Linked DNA regions of Homo sapiens: regions 2, 3, 4, 5, 6 and 7 are each linked to region 1. Evidence: promoter capture Hi-C in 16 types of primary human blood cells and fetal thymus (Javierre and others, 2016). All regions are on one chromosome and are shown on one strand. The core of a region is centred on a gene start or on the middle of the fragment in contact, and the rest is flanking DNA. Distances in the headings are between cores, read along the strand shown.

Region 1 (2,700 bases), core at 102-2,601:
GAGATCTCTGGAAGCTGGAAAAGGCAAGGAAACAACCATCCCCCAGAATCTCCAGAAGGAATGCAGCCCTGCCGACACATTCATTTTAACCCGGTGTGATGTATTTTGGACTTCTGACCTCCAGAACTGCAAGATACTAAATACGTGTTGTTTTAAGCCACCAGATTGTAGTAATTTGTTACAGCAGCAAACTATAGCGATGAATACATTCTGCTGATGTCTTTGTTTCCTATCCCTATTTCTCGCTCTAGGTTTACATTTTAAAACTGTTTCCATCTAGGCCGCGCGCTGTGGCTCGCGTCTGTAATTCCAGCACTTTGAGAGGCCAAGGCAGGAGGATCACTTGAGGTCAGGACTTCGAGACCAGCCTGGCCAACATGGTGAAACCCTGTCTCTACTGAAAATACAAAAATTAGCTGAGCATGGTGGCATGCACCTGTAATCCCAGCTACTCAGGAGGTTGAGATTAGAGGATTGCTTGAACCCAGGTGGTGGAGGTTGCAGTGAGCCAAGATCATGCCACTGCACTCTAGCCTGGGTGACATAGCGAGACTCTGTCTCAAAAATAAAAAAAATAAAATTAAAAAACTATTTTCTTTTTTTTTAGCGTTAAATCGAAAGTTCCCTAGTTAATTCCCACAATTAGGAGGGGCCCACCAGTTCCACAAATAGGAAATCTCTGCACTGCTCTTGCTCGTAAAGTGTATTTGCTTTTTCATAAATTGCTTATGTTCTTTGAGCCACCAATGGTTTAATGTCAGAATAATATAGATCATTAGAGCCTCTCAAGATCCCACAAGGAACTGCACTTTCTCCTGTAGTTAACCATCCAGTCATCCATGCAAGAAATATTTATTGGATGCTACCATGTATCAGGCACTGAGCCAGTATTGAGATGTGAAGACACAGTGCATAATCTAAGCCTTTACAGAGGCCACAGATGTTGGGTTTTTATGGCTTGAGAACAACATACATTGTTTCTTTCCAGGAAGCTAATTGGGGTACATGGAGCCACTTTGACTAAGTAGCAAGGAACAGGAACTGCACACTGGTTCCATCTTGGCTTCCAATTTGTATTCAGACCCAGGCAAGAGTTAAAGAGTTCGATGATAGATAAGCACAGATGCAAAACAGTACAGTCCAGTGCCTCTTTGCTTAGGCTAATATCTGCCCTCTCTTTATCCTCTCCAGCCCTGCCTTCCTGCCTTTGACGCAGGGAGCTAAGGGTCTGAATGAACCCTGTTGGAGGTTGCAATTAAATCTTTGTGGACAAAGGCACACACACACACACATACACAGAATCCTCAGATAACAGGAGGCAATAAATCCAACAGCACATCCACGTTCAGAGAACAGTGTCCCTGCTGTCTTGCTAACAGCTGCCAATACCTCACTGAGTGCCTCACACCAACATGGGCTCCAAGGTAAGATTTTTCTCTCTCCGGACAAATTTAATCTTTCCTTGTGATTTGTGTCTCTGTCAGAGGATTTTGACTGTTAAGTAAAGTTTACTATTGATTTGTTGGCAAATTCCTGGTTTTGTTTGTTTTTGTTTTGGGATTTGGGTGTGTGTGTTTCTCTCTCTTTGTAGTACTTACTTCACTCACTATGTTTTTTAATTTTCCATGGCTTGTCTTTTATTCTTATCCATACATATCCTAAGTCAATTTGTATTCAGAAATACCTCCTTTATATAGAGAAATGAAGGATCTTAAGTAATTGCATGCATTTACTGGTTAAAACTTAACTGAGAATTTGGTTCACTTAGGACCTTGGTCACGTTAATATGTAGTAGTGAGAGGGTTCTTCCAGCCCTGGGCTTAGAACAGAGTACCTCAGTGTTTGGGGTACTCCCAACACCTGAGGCTGACTATTGAATTTCAGTGATAATCATTTAAAATTATTTACTTCTTTAATTACAAAAGTAGCTCATTATTGAATATTTAGAAATACACAGAAGATAACTGAAGTCATTGATTATAAATAACTGGCATTTGAGTATCTCTCTACTCTCTCAAAAATGTGCCCATATATTTATATTTAGACAATTGAGATAAAGTTGAAAACACAGTTTAATTTCCCTTTTTTACTTAACGTTATAGTAATAGTATTTTCTGTATCATTAAAATTATTTGAAAATATAATTTTTAAGAGCCGCTTAATAATCCACCATTAACATGTTTGACTTTTTTCACTAAGAAAAATAATTCTGCAATTGATCATTTTGAGTATAAGTCTTTGGCTGCATCTCTGACCTTTTTTCTTTTGTAGGATGGGTTCCTTGTAGTAGAGTTACTAAGTCAAAGAGTATACAATTTTTAGGGCCTGATAGATTTCATGATGGTAATCTATTTTAAAATTTAAATGAGTGATATTGTTGATACCACAACAGAAGCCACGTCAAAGAAAATGAAATTCTCCCCAGAAACTCTTATTACTTGAAGTTTGACAAGGTACTGTGACTTAATGCTGACTAATGATATGAAATCCTGAATAGAGAACTAATCATGAAAGTCAATATTTTATTTTCACAGATGAAGGCATCTTTCTGATCAGGGGTTTGTAGCTCAAACAAAAGAATGAGCGTGCTTCTAGAACCACAGAGCAAGGGAACATGGTAGAGGATAAGCTGGCAAGTTGAAAAGCGTGGGATTTCATCCCAGTTTGACACTAACTGTGCAACCCCAAACAAATCTCCTA
Region 2 (2,700 bases), core at 15-2,514, 810 kb after region 1:
CGGTGAAAGGAAGACGTGGCCATTTGATGGAAGTCACAAACAAGCACCCTAGTGGTAAGTCACCAGGAATGCCTCTTTGCCCTCCCATCTGATGCATTTTATTTGTGGTGATAAGTCTGCCCCACAGTGCATACAGTGCCCATGAATGCTGACTGCTTTCTAAACAGTCATGAGAATGCAGCTTACTGAGGCGTCTTTGAAAAACTGCTTTGTGAAATAATCTGAAAGACTCTTTTTGGGCAGCACCAATAAATGGAAGCTTTTATTCTGGCTTCCTGGTAGATTAGCACAGCTTCATCCGCCCTAAGACGAAACACCATTGAGGAAATCTCTGCACTCACCATGGAACCAGGGGGCTATGGTGTCTGAGGTTTTCTGGTAGCCCGCTCGAAGTGGTAGCTGCTCCTCTTTAAACCACCGGATGATGTCCTCTTGGGCAGAGCTGGACAGTGTCCTCACCACTCCCTGATTTCTGTTATTTATAAAAGTTTTTCAAGTTAGATTTAACTAATTTGAAAATAATGCCCTCAAAAGTCATATATATATATATATATATACACACACACATACATATACATGCATATATATACATGCATGTCTGTAGACACCAGAGGTGCTTTATACATGCAAATATATATACATATATATATATATACACATGTGTGTGTGGGGGTGGGGGGAGAGAGAGAATGGGAGGGAGAGGGAATTATACACATTTCCAGATCTAATTCAATGACCTCAGCTAACAGGAGGCTGGAGCCCTGACACACTACCATTATACACCTCCTCAAGGGCAGAAGAGGAAGGAATATAAATCTGTCACTTGTGCTTCCAGTCTTAAAGGGCTAGTTATAGAAATGAGCCACTGCTGTGTTAACACACAGATTTAAGTTCATTTGTATAGGAATTATAAGCTCCATTAACTTCCAATTAACATCTGAGAAAATAAGCATTAAAAGGCAAAATACACTTTTACCCCAGCACATTTTCCTGGAAAGCAGGTATTTGCAAACAATAGAAATCAAATGCAATAAGATAGATTTCTTTCCTAATGTTTGCATTATTTGATTTTCTCTTCTCTTTCCACTAACCTCCCTGACTTGCTTTATCCTCTTCCACACTTTGATGACATTTAGTTCTGCTAAAAAAAAAAAAAAGTAAAGAAATACAAAGTAAAAGGAAGAAGAGTATTTGAAGTTTGAAAAGACAAAGATACAGGCAGCAGAATCATTTTGAAATAGATTCAGTAGCAGAACCTAAGTTCTAGGATGTAAGTCAATTTCTACTACAAAGAGTAACCTTGCAATGTAATAAACAGACTTCCAAGTCCTACTCAACAGCGTACTAATTTTGAGCAGAATTCAATTTAAACACAACAACACCACTGCAGTCAGTGAACTATCCTGTCTGTAGAGGCACCTGCTGGGAGACAAGCGTCTATCTGAGCCAATGAGATGTGCTCTCCAGCCACTCTCCAAAAACAGATGCTGATGGGGTCCAATATCAGCTCCATCCCCTCCCACCACTAAAGCCAAGGAAGTATCCATTCCCTGCAGGGATGCACTAGGAGACACACTTGTCTGGGTCATTAAAACAGTCTTCTGTACTGGAGTCCCTGACCAGCTTTCCCACACAGCCCCTGTACCCTCCTTGAGTTCTTCCTCAGGTCCATCAGGGAGGGAGAGCTGTGTAAATCATAGAGCCCTTGGGAGAGCTGCAGCAAGCCTGGACTTGGAGCGCCCTCTAGTGCTGAGATGGCTGCAGTGGTCACAGGCTCAGGAAACAATTTAAGAATTCTAAGTTGCTTTAGAATTTCTGGAAGGGCCTCTGAAAGACAGGCACAAATAAAGCCAGGCTGTGGAGAGTGGAATAAAAGCCTAATCCTTAAATGTGCAGATATTGTCACACATACACAAGCATCAAGAAGACTCAGGACAATATGACCTCACCAAGTGTACAAAATAAGATACCACAGGTCAAGCCTAAAGTCATAGAGATGTGTGATCTCTGAAACAATTCAAAATAGCTGTTTTAAGAAAGCTCAACAAACTTCAAGAAAGAACAGAGTCAATTCAAAAATTTATCAGGGAAATGTAGCAGAAAGACTGAAGTAATTTTAAAAAATCAAATCCTGGAGCCGAAAAATGCAATGAATAAAATGAAAAATGCAATAGAGGGTTTCAACAGTACACTTATTAGTGAGCCAGAAGACAGGCTATTTGAAAATACACAGAGATAAAAAAGAAAACAATGACATGAAGAAAGCTTATGGGGTCTGTGGGACAACATCAAAAGAGTAAATATTGGAGTTATTAAAGAGGGAATTCAGGAAGACAAAGGGGTTAAATGCTTATGCAAAGAAATAATAACAGAAAACTTTCCAAACCTGGAAAAAAATTAATAGCCAAGCATAGGATGATCGAAGGTCACCAGTCAGATTCAACCTACATAGGAATACCCCAAGACATATTATAATCAAACCCTCAGAGTGCAGAGACAAATAGAGGATCCTAAAAGCAGCTAAAGAAAAGCAGCAAATAACATGTAAGACAGATCCAATACACCCAGCAGCAGACTTCTCAGAAGAAACCGTATAGGCCAGAAAGAAGTGAGATGATACATGCTGAGACTGAAGGAAAAAAAAAATGCAACCCAGAATACTGCACACAGCAAAGTATTCCTTCAGAAAAGGAAAGAGAA
Region 3 (2,770 bases), core at 240-2,739, 580 kb after region 1:
CGCGCCCGCCCTCTCCTTGGGTGTCGTGTTCCCTGGGACGCGCCCACCGTTCTCCCTGGGGAGCGGGAGGCTCCAGGCGCGGCTGGGGCGCTGTGGGCAGATGCGCTCGGTCCTCACCAGCGGCGTTGTGCGGCGAACCCTGCGGTGCTTCGGGAAGGCGGTCGTTCCTCCCTGCTCCCACCGTTTTCCAGCGTGTGCGCTCTTACCTTCTCTGGGGAAAAAAGGAAATTTTTTATTTTTTAACATTTCATTTCATGAAACCGTTTTTTTTAAGTGGTGGCGCTGAACACAGTCCTTGCAGAGGGGGGCAGCACTTTCCCTCCTGACCCCAACCTGGAAACCCCAGTGTGACTTCAGCGCTGTCAGAGCATTGGAAGCAGAGCTGCGAGTTAGGAAGCGGCTCGCTGGCAGCTGGGCACGTTTCTTTCCTGCGAGATCGGCTTTTTTGATTTGCTCTTTTTCACATGAAAATGTTCAGCTTCATTTTTAGACACCTTTAGACATGGTTATCACTGTTTAAAGCCTTGATTTTTTTTTAAACAAATAGTTTGCATTTTATTCATTGAAACAGGGAGAGAACAAATACCATCCTGCTTTTTGGGGTAATACTTTCAGATGCATTGTATTTTATATACTAAGTGATTTAAAATGTTCCCATTTTGTAATACCACATACATTTAAGACATGGAAATTTACAAGGGTTGCCTTTTGTTTTTATTTTATTTTAGCTGCCTTCCTATTTCAAGGAAAGACGCCAAGGTAATTTTGACCCAGAGGAGCAATGATGTAGCCACCTCCTAACCTTCCCTTCTTGAACCCCCAGGTAAGTGAGCATTTTCACTCAAGAAACAAACCTTTGCATGGTCTGCTTTGTGTTCAATATTCTGGATGTGTTTGAAATGTATGAAATTTCATTCTACTGTCAATAGCTTGATTAGTAACAAGTTATTACTTCAAGAGAATGATACTTCTTCCAAAATAATACAATTACTTGGCTCCATTGAATCCTTTTCATTCACTTTTTAAAGGCTGTAACATCTACATCTACATCTAACTTTCCCAACTTTTTAAGGATTTATCTCTTCTCAGAGTGGCAAGTGACTTAAACCAATCATAGAGCTGGAAGAGCTACATCTTTTTGAAACAGTTCGCTTACATAGGGACATTTGTTCTCCCATTGGAAATTGGGACAGAATACTGAGCTTTTTAAAATAGTCACCCTGTCATCAAATAGGTACTCTAATTTTGACTTTGCTAGAAAATAATTATTTAAATACCATGGTTTTGGAAATTGAAGAATGAGCTTTCTTTCTGACATATGGTGTCTTAGAGGGACACTGTCTAGAGCTCTTTGAGAATAGTGCCCTTACGGATTGGAAGCTTGGTTTTAGTCCGGGGACAAATGAAAATCTCTGGAATGTTGTTTTAGTTCTGCTCTTGTAACCAGTAATTTTGAGTTTCTATGCAATAAGATGTTTTATTACATCTGATAAGACTAAACTTAAAAAATACAAAATAAAACAAGTACTGTAAAATATCATTAATGTTGACATGCGATGGTATGAAACAGGAAGCTGTATATATGGTTCCAAGCTTCAGCAGAGAGTCTTTTTTTTTTCTAGAAGTAATTCAATAGGCATAAAAATGAAAATAGGTAAGCTGCACTCAGCATATACATATCTTCAGAAAGCCCCCTTCACCTTCCTCCTTCATTTAACAAATGTCTATAGAGGTTTGCTTGATGGTTTTGCTTTTTTTTTTTTTCCAAAAACTTTTGTCACACTATTAAGATAAAATAATGGAAGCCAGAGTAGTTAATGATTTGATTTTGCATTAATGAACTGCCCTGTACTTAAATGAGGGTGTGTGGAGTTTCATAAAGAACTGTATTTCAGTTACTAACAATAGAAAAAATAAAAAAAACCTTGGCTGAAAGTTAATAATACAAACAAAAATAACTGAAGGAGAATTCCTCCCAAATCCTTTCCTAAGTAGAAAGTCAAGTGGTTAAGAGGCTTAAGTAATTCAGGGTCAACTTGAAGGGCGTATGGAACTGTCCTAATCTTGGGCCTTGTGATGTTTAATGTTTTTGAGAATTACTTGGATGATACAAAAGAGAGCAATGTCATTACAACCCCATGTAGACCATAATTAGTAAGACCTTGAGATAATGCCAGAAAACAGTCAAAATAAACTTTACAAAATAGAGAAGTAGGCTGGGTGCGGTGGCTCACTCCTATAATCCCAGCACTTTGGGAGACCGAAGCAGGTGGATCACAAGGTCAAGAGTTCGAGACCAGCCTGGCCAATATGGTGAAACCCCATCTCTACTGTAAATATAAAAATTAGCCAGGCATGGTGGTGCATACCTGTAACCCAGCTACTAGGGAAGATGAGGCAGAAGAATCGCTTGAACAGGGGAGGTGGAGGTTGCAGTGAGCCAAGATGACGCCATTGCACTCCAGCCTGGGCAACAGCAAACTCTGTCTCTAAATGAATGAATGAATGAATGAATGAATGGTGAGCAGCAATTGACCAAGAATGAACCATGGTGGAGCAAGCTCTATGAAGGATATGTTTAACACACAAGGCTATCCCTACTGCACAACTTATGGCCTAATGCTACTAAATGTTTGAATGGAACAATTAACTCCCCTTGCTGGGATCCTGTGATTGCCAAGCATGCACTGGGTGTGGGGTAGGTTTGTCTGCCCAAAAAGAAAGGAAACAACTCATTTGCTGTCTTCTCAATGTGCACGTTGGTTTCTTT
Region 4 (2,700 bases), core at 141-2,640, 830 kb after region 1:
GTCAGGAGTTCGAGACCCGTCTGGCCCACATGGTGAAACCCCATCTCTACTAAAAATACAAAAATTAGCTGGCATGGTGGTGCATGGTGGCACATGCCTGTTAATCCCAGTTATTCGGGAGGCTGAGACAGGAGAATCACTTGGACCTGGGAGGCAGAGGTTACAGTGAGCTAAGATTGTGCCACTGAACTCTAGCCTGGTGACCGTGAGACTCCGTGTCAAAAAAAAAAAAAAAAAAATTAGTTGAAAAACCACTCGAGAGATGAATCCTTCTATTTAAACACTTCTATTCAATGTGTCTAAAACATACTGTAAACTCTAAAGCTATTCACACATACTAAGAACCACATTTATAAAAATTCTACTTTTCAAGGTGAACCAAGATTTTGCCATTATTCTAAAGGGTTAAAATAACATGAAAAACTTAAAACTTGCAGAAAGCAGGCTCATTTAGATACACTTACACGTTCTACAAATCCATGATATGCACAAGTAATAGAGTGAAAATGTGGGATCCAAAAGTTATTTCCTTTATTAAAAAAAAAAAAAAAAAAAAACAGCTAGAGGCCAGGTGTGGTGGCTCACGCCTGTAATCCCAGCACTTTGGGAGTCTGAGGTGGGCAAATCACAAGCTCAAGAGATCCAGACCATCCTGGCCAACATGGTGAAACCCCATTTCTACTAAAAATACAAAAATTAGCCGGGCGTGATGATGCGCACCTGGAGTCCCAGCTACTCAGGAGGCTGAGGCAAGAGAATTGCTTGAACCCAGGAGGCAGAGGATGCAGTGTGTCAAGATGCTGCCACTGTACTCCAGCCTAGGTGACAGAGCAAGACTCCGTCTCAAAAAAAAAAAAAAAAAACTAGATGATTAATGGACTCAAAAGTAATGACTTATGATGGCAATATCAGAGGGTATACCTCAGTAATACCACTGCCTCTTTGAAGCACTCCTAGAGGCAGGATGAAGAGGCTTTTCAAAGAGGGTACCATGTCCTCTCTGAAGCTTCCATATGCTGCTATGACCCAGGAAATATACTCTTTAGTTATCTCTATACCAAAAAAGGGAAGAAAATGACCCTCCTACCTGTATAATTTTTGCTTATAAAGCACTTTGAAGTCTAATACATCATTGACCTTCATATTAGGTGTCAAAATAGGCCTTATCCCTTTACCAAAGAGGTAAGGTAACCTGTTTTATTGGTCATTGTGTTTTTGTTCTTGAGACAGAGTCTCGCTCTGTTCCCAGGCTGAAGTGCGGTGGCATGATCAGGGCTCACTGCAGCCTCAACTTCCTGGGCTCAAGTGATCCTCCCACCTCAGTCCCCCAAAGTAGCTGGGACTACAAGCATGCACTACCACACCTGGCTAAATTTTTTTTAATTTTAGTAGAGACAAGGTCTCACTATATTGCCCAGGCTGGTTTCAAACTCCTGAGCTCAAGTGACGCTCCCACCTCAGCCTCCCAAAGTGCTGAGATTATAGGTGTGAGCCGCCACACCTGGCCTAAGTTGACCTGTTAATAGGTAGGAGGACAGGGACCCAAATGCATGTCATCTCCACGTCTGAAGCCTGCTCCTTCCTCAGGGTCTCCCAGAGAGAACATATGTATGCTCTTACGCATAACAGCCACTACGGTCATCATCCATCTGCCACATTACAGAAATTCTTACAGCTGCTGGAGCTCTATGAGCAGAGTTAAAGCAATCTTATCTGCCTCATATCTGCTCTATTTAAACATAAAAACTGCCATGAATATTTATGCAAAAGCTTCCAAAAAAGAAAAACTGAAAGCTAATAACATCAGAAGCTAGTGGACTTCCTGCAGACATCAAGTCAGAATAACCCTCTGTAATCAGTGAAAATCCCAAATGGATCTGGGGGTGTACCCCATCTGATTGGCCAAAAGATAGTATGAAAAATAATAACTACCGTTAAACTTAGAAGTATGACAGTTCAAATCTACATAAGCAACTGGGTTACAAAAAGGTGCTGCTGACAACATCAGTATTACATGGTTACAAAATATGCTTCCCCCAGAGTCTGTCTGTCAAATGAGAAGAATTATGTTCACTTTTCAAACTGCTTTGAGAAACAGTTGATACTGGCTTCTAACTTAATATTCCCTTTGTTTATAAGTAGGGTTATAGGCTGGAGGCGGTGGCTCAGGCCTGTAATCCCAGCACTTTGGAAAGCTGAGGCAGGCGGATCACCTGAGATCAGGAGTTCAAGACCAGCCTGGCCAACATGGTGAAACCCCATCTCTACGAAAGTACAAAAATTAGCCAGGCATGATGGTGGGTGCCTGTAATCGCAGCTACTCAGGAGGCTGAGGCAGAAGAATCGCTTGAACCCGAGAGGCAGAGGTTGCAGTGAGCCAAGATCTCACCACTGCACTCCAGCCTGGGCGACAGAGCAAGACTCCATCTCAAAATAATAATAATAATGGTAGGGTTGTACAGTCAAACAAATGCCAAGTGTCTTTAATTCCAAATAAACCAGAAAGCTCCAACAAACAGAACATTGTCAGGACTCAATTTTTATGGTAAAGATGAAAATGAAGAATTAATAGCATAAAATCAAGAGTTTATTTTTGTTTTTGTTTTTGTTTTTTTTTGTTTTGTTTTTTGAGTCAGAGTCTCACTCTGTTGCCCAGGCTGGAATACAGTGGTGCGATCTCAGCTCACTGCAAGCTCCGCC
Region 5 (2,700 bases), core at 1-2,500, 700 kb after region 1:
TGGAGCATTGAGTTTGGGGTCAGGGCATGTTGAGATGAAACTTGGGGATATCACTGAGAACCAGACATAATGAAGTGCTTTAACTTCACATGCCTTTGGGCTTTGTCTTAATGAAACCAGGGAGCCATTGAAGGGCTTAAACAGAAGGGTGACATTATTAGAATTATATTTAGAAATATTGCTTTGTCTGCTCTGTTGAGAATGTATTGGAGGGACTCAGCCTAGAGGGACAAAGAGCTGTTGTTGTAATTCCAGGCTGAGACGTTACCAGCTTCATTTGTGGTAGCAGAATTAGGGATAAGAGAAGTGGGTGATTCCAGAGACCCTGAGGGATCAGAACCCATGGGGCTTGGTAATTGATCAGATAATAAATAATAGTAAACATCTATGTGAATGTCACTGTATACTGGATGTGGGATGGAGAGGGAGGTGTGAAGGATGAAGCTCAGCTCATTTAATGCTAATGCCACTCACTGCTCCTCAGAAGAGGAAGAACTAGACCAGGAGAGATGATCAGCTTAGTTGTAGGGGTGACTTTGAGCTGTCTCTGGGACACATAAAGGGAGAGGGCCAAGACAGTTGGAATATGGGTTTGGAGCTCAAAATAAAAATCAAATTTGGAGCTAAGGGGTTAGGACTTATTGATGCAAATTTAAACTGTGGAGATGGATGAGATTTTCCGTAGAAACATTGAGAGTGAAAAGCGATCTGTGATCGGAACTTTGAGGACCACCCACAATTATGTTATAGGCAGAGGAAGGGCACCCGTGATGGAAATTATAAAGGAACAGCCAAAGAGGGAGGCAGAAAGTCAGAAGGATTTGGTAACTCAAAACACAAGGAGAGAAAGCGGCTTTAGATGGAGAGTGTGGGCATTAGCATCGAATATTGAGAAAGGCAGTACGAGATAAGAATTTACAGGATCTATTGGATGTAGCAGAAGAAGTCATTGCTGGCCTGGATTGGGGAGAGAACATCATCAGTGGAGTGGTAGGGGCAGAAATAAGGTTGCCGTGGGACAAGAAAAGGAAAAAGTCCTCTGATGTTGGTTACAGAGCCTAAAACGGCACTGTCCAGCACAGTGCTGCTCCCTGCATGTGCTTATTTTAAACAAAAATTAATTAAAATCATATACAATTAAAAATGTATGTCCTCAATTTCACTAGCCACATTTCAAGTGTACAGTAGCCGTTTGACAAAATGGATTAAGAACATGTCCATTATCACCGAACATTCTGTTTCCCAGCGCTGATCTAGGTGCTCAGCGCTGAAAGAGAGGAAGGAAATGGTAGGAGCGGTAGCTGTGCTGAGCTCTAGTGTGTATACTCAGGAGTAGGGCTGTGTGTGTATTTAATCGGAGTCATGAGCGATTTGATGGAAAGAGCTGATAACGTGAAAGCATCGGTGTGTTTGCCTATGTCCTATTGAGTAGCTGCAGTATATGGAAAAAAAAGCCCCCTGCACTCCTGCCAGCATTTTGAAACCCTTAAATTATTTTGAGTACTTCTAAGTATTCAAAAGTTGCTTCAGTTGAGAAAATACTGTTTTATCTCTGTATCTCCATAAGTTTTAGCTTTGCACATAAGATGGGTTTGATACATGTTTGTTGGCTTAAGTCTGGGTTACTCTGGGATGTGTTCTAGTCCTGTCACCTGTGGTATAATCACAGCAACATGAGCTCAGCACTTTTTTCTATGGCCCGGGTAGAAAAGCCAGAGAGGGAGGCATTGAGGATACAGAAACGACTATGATGTCATTTTGATTATAAAATTTTGACCATAAGGATGTGTGCTTATCTCCAGTTTGGGACTTTGTTTTCACAGGGTGGTTCTAGGGTGTTCTTAAGTGTGTCCCCACTGTGATTTTGAGCTCAAGAGGAGGTTTGGGTAGACTTTGATGAAGATCTTGGGCAGGGTACTTAGCTAAAGACCTGTGATCTTTATATAAAGTCACTCCTGTCCACAGGTGTTTATCGAGCACCTGCTAAGCACCTTCCCATTTGTTAGGCCCTAGGATGTAGTCAAGATTTTTGAATAAGATGTAATTTCTACTCTGAGTTGGGAAAATGAGACGTCGTAGACACATGAAGATTAAAACAGGACCGTGACTAGCAAGGTGCCAACCAGGAGTATGGGGCAGACTATAAGGACAGACACCCAGGGCACAGAGGTCGATGGGCACAAGGCATTCAGGAAATGAGAAGACTGGCACGGTGGCAAAATAAAGTTAGAAAGGAGTAAGATGTGACTGGAAAGATGAAGGATGGTTTTATTAGCCGCACATAAGAACTGGTCATTGTAAAGCTAATGCCTGATTAATTACAGCCTTTAAAACTTGGAAAAAGACTTACACTGTGATATTTCCAGCAGTAGACAACATTTTAGGCACTTGGACGGGCAGATGACCTCATGCAATTGGAACTTGAGAAGTACACAGACCTAGGATCCCTCACTCTCGTAGGAGAGCCAAAACAGCAGGGCACAAGAGGGGAATGAGTCGATATTGCCTGGTGTTGATGCCGGGTGGAAACTTTAGAGTAACTGTTTAGAAAGAAGAAATATTCCTCGTTTTTCCTCCCAGTGTTGTTGGTGTGGCTTCTAATCTTAAAGGCAACTCACTGCTGGAGTGAGCCTGGTAGGGATAGGAAATGAGAAGAGAAATGAGCCCTTGTCTGTAAATACACGTTTTACTTCTTCATTG
Region 6 (2,726 bases), core at 59-2,558, 790 kb after region 1:
GACTTGGTCTAGGACAGTGGTTCTCAACCACTCGGACAAAGGTGTCCGAGAGACATCTTTGGTTGTCATGGATGGAGGATGGGGTTAGAGGTCAGGGATGTTGCTAAACAGCCTATGAGACACAGAACAGCCCCACACTGCAGAGAATTATCCAGCCCCAGATAGCAGTAGTGCTGAAATTGAGACTCCCTGGTGTGGGAGGCTCAGTAATTTAGTGACAGAGCCAAGTCAGACTCAGTTCTACTCAGTTCTATAAAGTACCTTAGCCTGTAGCTATTGCTAAATGACACTACACTGGCATTTAAAGGAATAAAACTATATGTGTGTCTTTATATACACATATGAAGTTATATATAGACATAGCTTAGATGCCTCAGGAATTCACACTCTTACTCCAGACCAGCCTTTTCCCCAGTTAGTCCAAACTCATGAGGTCTGACTCATGTTCCAAATTTTTTATTCCCATCATAATCCATCAATGAATAGATAATGCTGTAAAACTCACAGAGTAGAAACGCATCTTGGAAAGATGGGGAAGTCAATGAATTATTCAGTGAGCTGAGATCTGGGAGGGAGGAGCAGCGTTCTACGCGTGCCCTTTTTCATTTCAGCAAAGCTCTTGCCTTCTCTTGTTGGCTCCCTGTTGATACTCAGTACCTTATTATCAGGAAAACAAAACAATAACAGAACCACCTCAGGAAAAGGCAAGGGGCTGCCATAGCCCTTTTGTCTTGTTAGTACAGCTAATTGAGAAGTGAACTCTCTCCAGAGTAAAATAAAACCATGTCTGTTCTCTTTTCTGTAAACAGACCCTTGAATGACAGGAGGATTTTAAAAATTGTCTGTTTTCTTCTAGCCAAGATCATCCAACCAGACCTTCTCCTGCTTCCTATTTAGGAGAACACAGACCCCAGGTGTCCCACTGCAGAGTCCCAGTGTATGAAGGTCAACCCAGTGTGAGACCTCCAGGTAAGAGCTGGGAGTGGGTGAAAAGGCCAGTCTCCCCGACTTGCAGATAGTCAACATCCTCGAAACAGACCAGGGCCTTGCTCCTAGGGGCAGTGGCTCTATTACACTCATTCCCAGCAGACGACTGATGCACATGCATTGCATGTATCATGTCCAGTCGCTTTTCCACCCCTTCCCTGCTGAGACAGACCCATGGAACACCGTAGGTACCATGGACACAGAAAGCCTCTTGGTTCAGATGCTCCACTATCCCCATGAGGTACTCAAATCATGGCTAAGTTCCAACAGATACGGGCTGCTCCTTCTGTTTGTCTATTTCCCCTTCCTAAGCATACCTGGTCCCATTGATAAATTACAAATGACAACCATACGTTGAAACAAGGCGCCAGGTACCAGCCCATGCGGGGACTGCACATGGCAAATCTCTAAAGACACTGTATGAGACTGACTCCGAAACCCAGGGATGTTTTCAATGACCCTGAAAAGTCCCCTTCAGAAACAAGGAGCCACGACCGGAGGAGAAGCAGCATCTTGGAAAAAGATCTCTCCCTCCTCCTAGGCTGACGGCTCACTATGAAATTCCAGGCTGTTTCAACAGATGGGGCAGGTGTTACAATTTATGACATCTGGAAATTATCCAGATGAATCTGGATTCCTAAAATTAAAGCTATTCTGGAAATTTATAACCAAACCTCGGCTAAGTAAGGTCAAATTCCTTTTAAAATGAGGTCGTAGTGACTGTAACTGAAACTTTCCAAAAGCCCCTTAGCCTTACGCATAGATCTTGGTGCCATCTAATCTCCTGGGACACCAGGACCCAATCAATCATGTTGATGGCAAAGCACAGGTCATAGTGGAGACTCCTTGTACACCATGGGACAGAGGGCAGGTTCCAAAGGGCAGTGCCCTGGAGCCTAGGCTTTGAATGATCCAAGTGGTAGTTTGTCTTTGCTTTTTTTGCTTTGTAAGAGGATTACTATTCCTTAATAGCAAACTGGCTTGGTGCAGCTAAATACACAGGTCAATGTACAGTTTGTCATGAATCCATCTGTCATGAATCCATCAGGGGCACTGTGTGCATTTGGGGTGTCCTGGCTGTGATTACTGCCAAGCAATGAGGTTCATCTGCTGGGATAGGGAATTCTTGAGCACAAAACCAAAATCTAATGTTAGATATTGATTACTGAGGACTTATTCCACGTTTTCTTTTTTTTAAACAGTCACTCAAGCTGCAGTGCAGTGGTGCGATCTCGGCTCACTGCAACTTCTGACTCCTGGGTTCAAGCGATTCTCATGCCTTAGCCTCCTGTGTAGCTGGGATTACAGGAGCCCACTACCATGCCCAGCTAATTTTTGTATTTTTAGCAGAGATAGGGTTTTACCATGTTGGCCAGGCAGGTCTCAAACTCCTGGCCTCAAATGATCTGCCCACCTCGGCCTCCCAAAGTGCTGGGATGATAGTGGGATGATAGGCGTGAGCCACTGCACCCGGCCTCAGTCAACCTAACGGTACTTGTCCCCTGCATTGCCCTTTGCACAACTCTAAGAATTCTGAAGCAGGGGTCTTCATCCCAGCCCCTAAAGGCTATGACACATTGGTGCTGCTTCCCTCTGACCTGCCCTCTCTGCACAGCTTAAAGAAACCAAACCTGATGTCATAGGAGGATTTCTGTGCTAGAGAAAAGCAGTAATTTTTATTTGTTTTTTTAAGACAGGGTCTTACTCCATTGCCCAAGCTGGAGCAGTGTGGCACAATC
Region 7 (2,717 bases), core at 42-2,541, 660 kb after region 1:
TGGCCCTGCTGCATATTTTATATCCATGATGATTTGGGTATTCTCCCAAGTTTTTCCATCTCTACCTAACAAATAATACTCAACTTGAAAGGCTCTGCAGAAGCTTCTGTGATTCTTCCAAACAGATGATCTTTCTCTCCTCTGAACTACGGCATTGTTTTGTTTATATCGCGAATGACTGATCACATTCCCTTGACATAAACATTGTTTTTAGAACTGTCCTTGCCACTCCCCATTACCCTGGTGAGGACAGGGATCTCAGCTGACCCTTCGGTTTGTCTCCTGTGATAATTGGTATGGTCCCTTCCATGCAGTAAGCATTTAATAGATATTTGATGATTACGTGAATACAATTCACATTGTTTATAACATTATTTACTGAATGCTAGAAAAGTTGTTTTCTGTTTTAATAGTACAATGTAGCCTGGGTGTGAATAGTACCATGTAGCCTGGGCGTGGTGGCTCCTGCCTGTAATCTCACCACTTTGGGAGGCCAAGGTGGGTGGATCGCTGGAGCCCAGGAGTCCAAGACCAACCTGGACAACATTGCAAGACTACGTCTCCACAAAAAGTAAAAAAAAAAAATTAGCTGGGCATCATGTCATGCATCTGTAGTCCCTGCTCCTCCAGAGGCCGAGGTGGGAGGATGGCTTGAGTCCTGGAGTTCAAGACTGCAGTGACCCATGATCGCGCCCTTGCACTTCAGCCTAGGTGACAGAGTGAGAACCTGTCTCCAAATAAGTAAGTAAAAATAGTACTGTGTGATAATGCTGTTGAGGAACATCTTACATGCCACCTTTCCTATAGAGCGAGGTGGGTGTGGCATGAGAAGGTGGTGCCCCGCCCCTCTTTCACAGGTGCTTGCTTCAGTGTAGGTCACTGTTACGTGAGATGGAACTCTGATGGTCTTGTTCCTTGTAGATTTTTGCAATGCAGTGGTGGTAATGTCCGCAATTGTTGCAGCTTCACACGAGTGTATTCAAAAGGATCATATTCCAACTTATCTTTCACATGGAGGCATTTTATGCCTCTCCTAGGCAGCCTTGAACTGAGCCTTGTTATATGTCAGGATAGTAGCATGCAGTTTGAAGAGGGAATCAGGAAACTCCGCTCACCACAGACATCTTGCAGCCTTACTTTGGGAAGAATCTTTTATTGTTTAAATTTTTTTTTGAGCCTTGGGAATGTGTCTAGTACCAGTAGCTGAAATTAGAACGTTAGTGTATTGAATCATATTTTGAGCTACTGGAAAATTGCAATTTAAAAATAACTTAGGAGGTTTTGAGATTTCTCCCAAATGTGCTTGCTGCCACTTGAAGAGTGACTTTGCAGGTCAGAACTTCACCAAGGTGTACCCAGAGTCCTTCTGGTAAGTTGCTGGTGCAGAAAAATGCTTCTGCTGCTTGCAGCCCCATGTGTACAACTATGGAATCTATTGTCCCCAGACCTAATGTCCTCCTCCACTGTGCCAGGACACTGGGCTAAGCATTTTACATACATCGCCTTTTAAAATCTCCCAGGATCCCTAATGGAATCTGTACCACTTAGTTTAAATGGCATTTTAGAGAGAGTTTTTCAAATTTACTATGGTTTTCTTTTCTTAAAATAAATGGATCTGGAGAGGTAAGAACGTGAGTTATTTTGATTTAAAATTTGGAAAGTGCAAATTTAGAGGCAAGAGATGAAGAGTCTCGAGTTCTGAGTTCTGGTTCTTACTGTGCTTTCTACCAGCTCTGTACCTGTGTATACACACCAACCATTTATTTCTTGGTGGTAGTTTTCTCATCAGCAAAGTGATGTCCATGCCACATTTCTCTCACTAATACGGTTTTGACCTTAATTTAGCTCACACTGATTTCATATTAACTCTGTTACAGGCACTATGCTGAGTACGTCATGAGGACTCTATAAGACAAGCCTTTCTGTGCTCCTCAGGTCTGGGAGACAAAGGCTTCAAGAAACCAAACAACTGCAGGGCTCAAATGGTCTCAACCTCAGAGCCTGTAATGTCAACCACTGCATTGACTGCTAGGAGAAAGGGAAATACAAGATGTGGAAGCAACTTACAACGTCAGAACAAATGGACACATGAAGTCTTACCACGACGCAGGGATTGGTAGAGCAGATGCTTGCCTGTGCAGTAATTTGAAGAATGCCAGCAGAGCTCTGTTTTCAAAGTCCCCCTCTCTTATCTTCCATTCCTGCAGGCAGAGCAAAGTTTGCAGGTCCATGAAACCAAACTTGTCTTTCTCCTAGAACTTCTCTTGTGTGTGTTATTTTTCAGTGGCAGCTCCATCCTCAGAAATGTACATGTTAAACCCTGGCGCTATTCTTCTTCTTCTTGTTTTTATTTTTTTTGGAGACGGAGTCTAGTAGTGTGATCTCGGCTCACTGCAGCCTCCGCCTCCCATGTACAAGCAATTCTCCTGCCTCAGCCTCCTGAATAGCTGGGATTACAAGCGCACACCACCAAGCTTGGATAATTTTTGTGTTTTTAGTAGAGATGGGTTTCTACCATGTTGGCCAGGCTGTTCTCAAACTCCTGACCTCAAGTGATGTACCCACTTCAGCCTCCCAGAGTGCTAGGATTACAGACGTAAGTCACCGTGCCGGCCCCCTGGGCCCTACTCTTGATGGATAGCTTTTTTTTCTCCTCATGTAATTGGTGTACTTCCTCTGTCTTTAGTGCTGTAGCCTGGGTTTAAGTCTTCCCTGGC

What was found. The method cuts DNA at HindIII sites, captures the fragments that hold promoters and counts their contacts. A CHiCAGO score of 5 or more calls a contact.
Region 2: a fragment that was not itself captured here is called in contact with the fragment with the promoter of SLC18A1 in region 1 in 6 of 17 cell types (neutrophils, monocytes, total B cells and 3 more); the score reaches 12.0 in neutrophils.
Region 3: a contact is called between a fragment that was not itself captured here and the fragment with the promoter of SLC18A1 in region 1, in 1 of 17 cell types (neutrophils). The highest score is 6.9, in neutrophils.
Region 4: a contact is called between a fragment that was not itself captured here and the fragment with the promoter of SLC18A1 in region 1, in 1 of 17 cell types (total B cells). The highest score is 6.5, in total B cells.
Region 5: a fragment that was not itself captured here is called in contact with the fragment with the promoter of SLC18A1 in region 1 in 1 of 17 cell types (neutrophils); the score reaches 5.6 in neutrophils.
Region 6: a fragment that was not itself captured here is called in contact with the fragment with the promoter of SLC18A1 in region 1 in 1 of 17 cell types (neutrophils); the score reaches 5.6 in neutrophils.
Region 7: a fragment that was not itself captured here is called in contact with the fragment with the promoter of SLC18A1 in region 1 in 1 of 17 cell types (neutrophils); the score reaches 5.0 in neutrophils.

The regions. Positions count from the first base shown.
Region 1 is chr8:20,181,787-20,184,486 of GRCh38, reverse strand. SLC18A1 (solute carrier family 18 member A1) reads left to right here and starts at 1,351. Exons shown (of 16, transcript NM_003053.4): 1 at 1,351-1,424. The HindIII fragment of the contact is 10,670 bases long and covers 1-2,700 here.
Region 2 is chr8:19,371,302-19,374,001 of GRCh38, reverse strand. It overlaps SH2D4A (SH2 domain containing 4A), which reads right to left. Exons shown (of 10, transcript NM_022071.4): 8 at 342-472. Among named protein-coding and RNA genes, the nearest start is that of SH2D4A, 59 kb to the right of the region's middle. RefSeq lists a silencer at 1,345-1,506. The HindIII fragment of the contact is 2,006 bases long and covers 262-2,267 here.
Region 3 is chr8:19,599,824-19,602,593 of GRCh38, reverse strand. It overlaps CSGALNACT1 (chondroitin sulfate N-acetylgalactosaminyltransferase 1), which reads left to right. Exons shown (of 9, transcript NM_001354483.2): 2 at 729-823. Among named protein-coding and RNA genes, the nearest start is that of CSGALNACT1-AS1, 77 kb to the left of the region's middle. The HindIII fragment of the contact is 213 bases long and covers 1,383-1,595 here.
Region 4 is chr8:19,351,532-19,354,231 of GRCh38, reverse strand. The region is part of intron 4 of SH2D4A (SH2 domain containing 4A); the gene reads right to left. Among named protein-coding and RNA genes, the nearest start is that of SH2D4A, 39 kb to the right of the region's middle. The HindIII fragment of the contact is 764 bases long and covers 1,009-1,772 here.
Region 5 is chr8:19,480,714-19,483,413 of GRCh38, reverse strand. All of the region lies in intron 3 of CSGALNACT1 (chondroitin sulfate N-acetylgalactosaminyltransferase 1), which reads left to right. Among named protein-coding and RNA genes, the nearest start is that of SH2D4A, 170 kb to the right of the region's middle. The HindIII fragment of the contact is 4,312 bases long and covers 1-2,700 here.
Region 6 is chr8:19,389,825-19,392,550 of GRCh38, reverse strand. The region is part of intron 8 of SH2D4A (SH2 domain containing 4A); the gene reads right to left. Among named protein-coding and RNA genes, the nearest start is that of SH2D4A, 77 kb to the right of the region's middle. The HindIII fragment of the contact is 5,990 bases long and covers 1-2,726 here.
Region 7 is chr8:19,521,300-19,524,016 of GRCh38, reverse strand. All of the region lies in intron 2 of CSGALNACT1 (chondroitin sulfate N-acetylgalactosaminyltransferase 1), which reads left to right. Among named protein-coding and RNA genes, the nearest start is that of CSGALNACT1-AS1, 160 kb to the left of the region's middle. The HindIII fragment of the contact is 2,371 bases long and covers 106-2,476 here.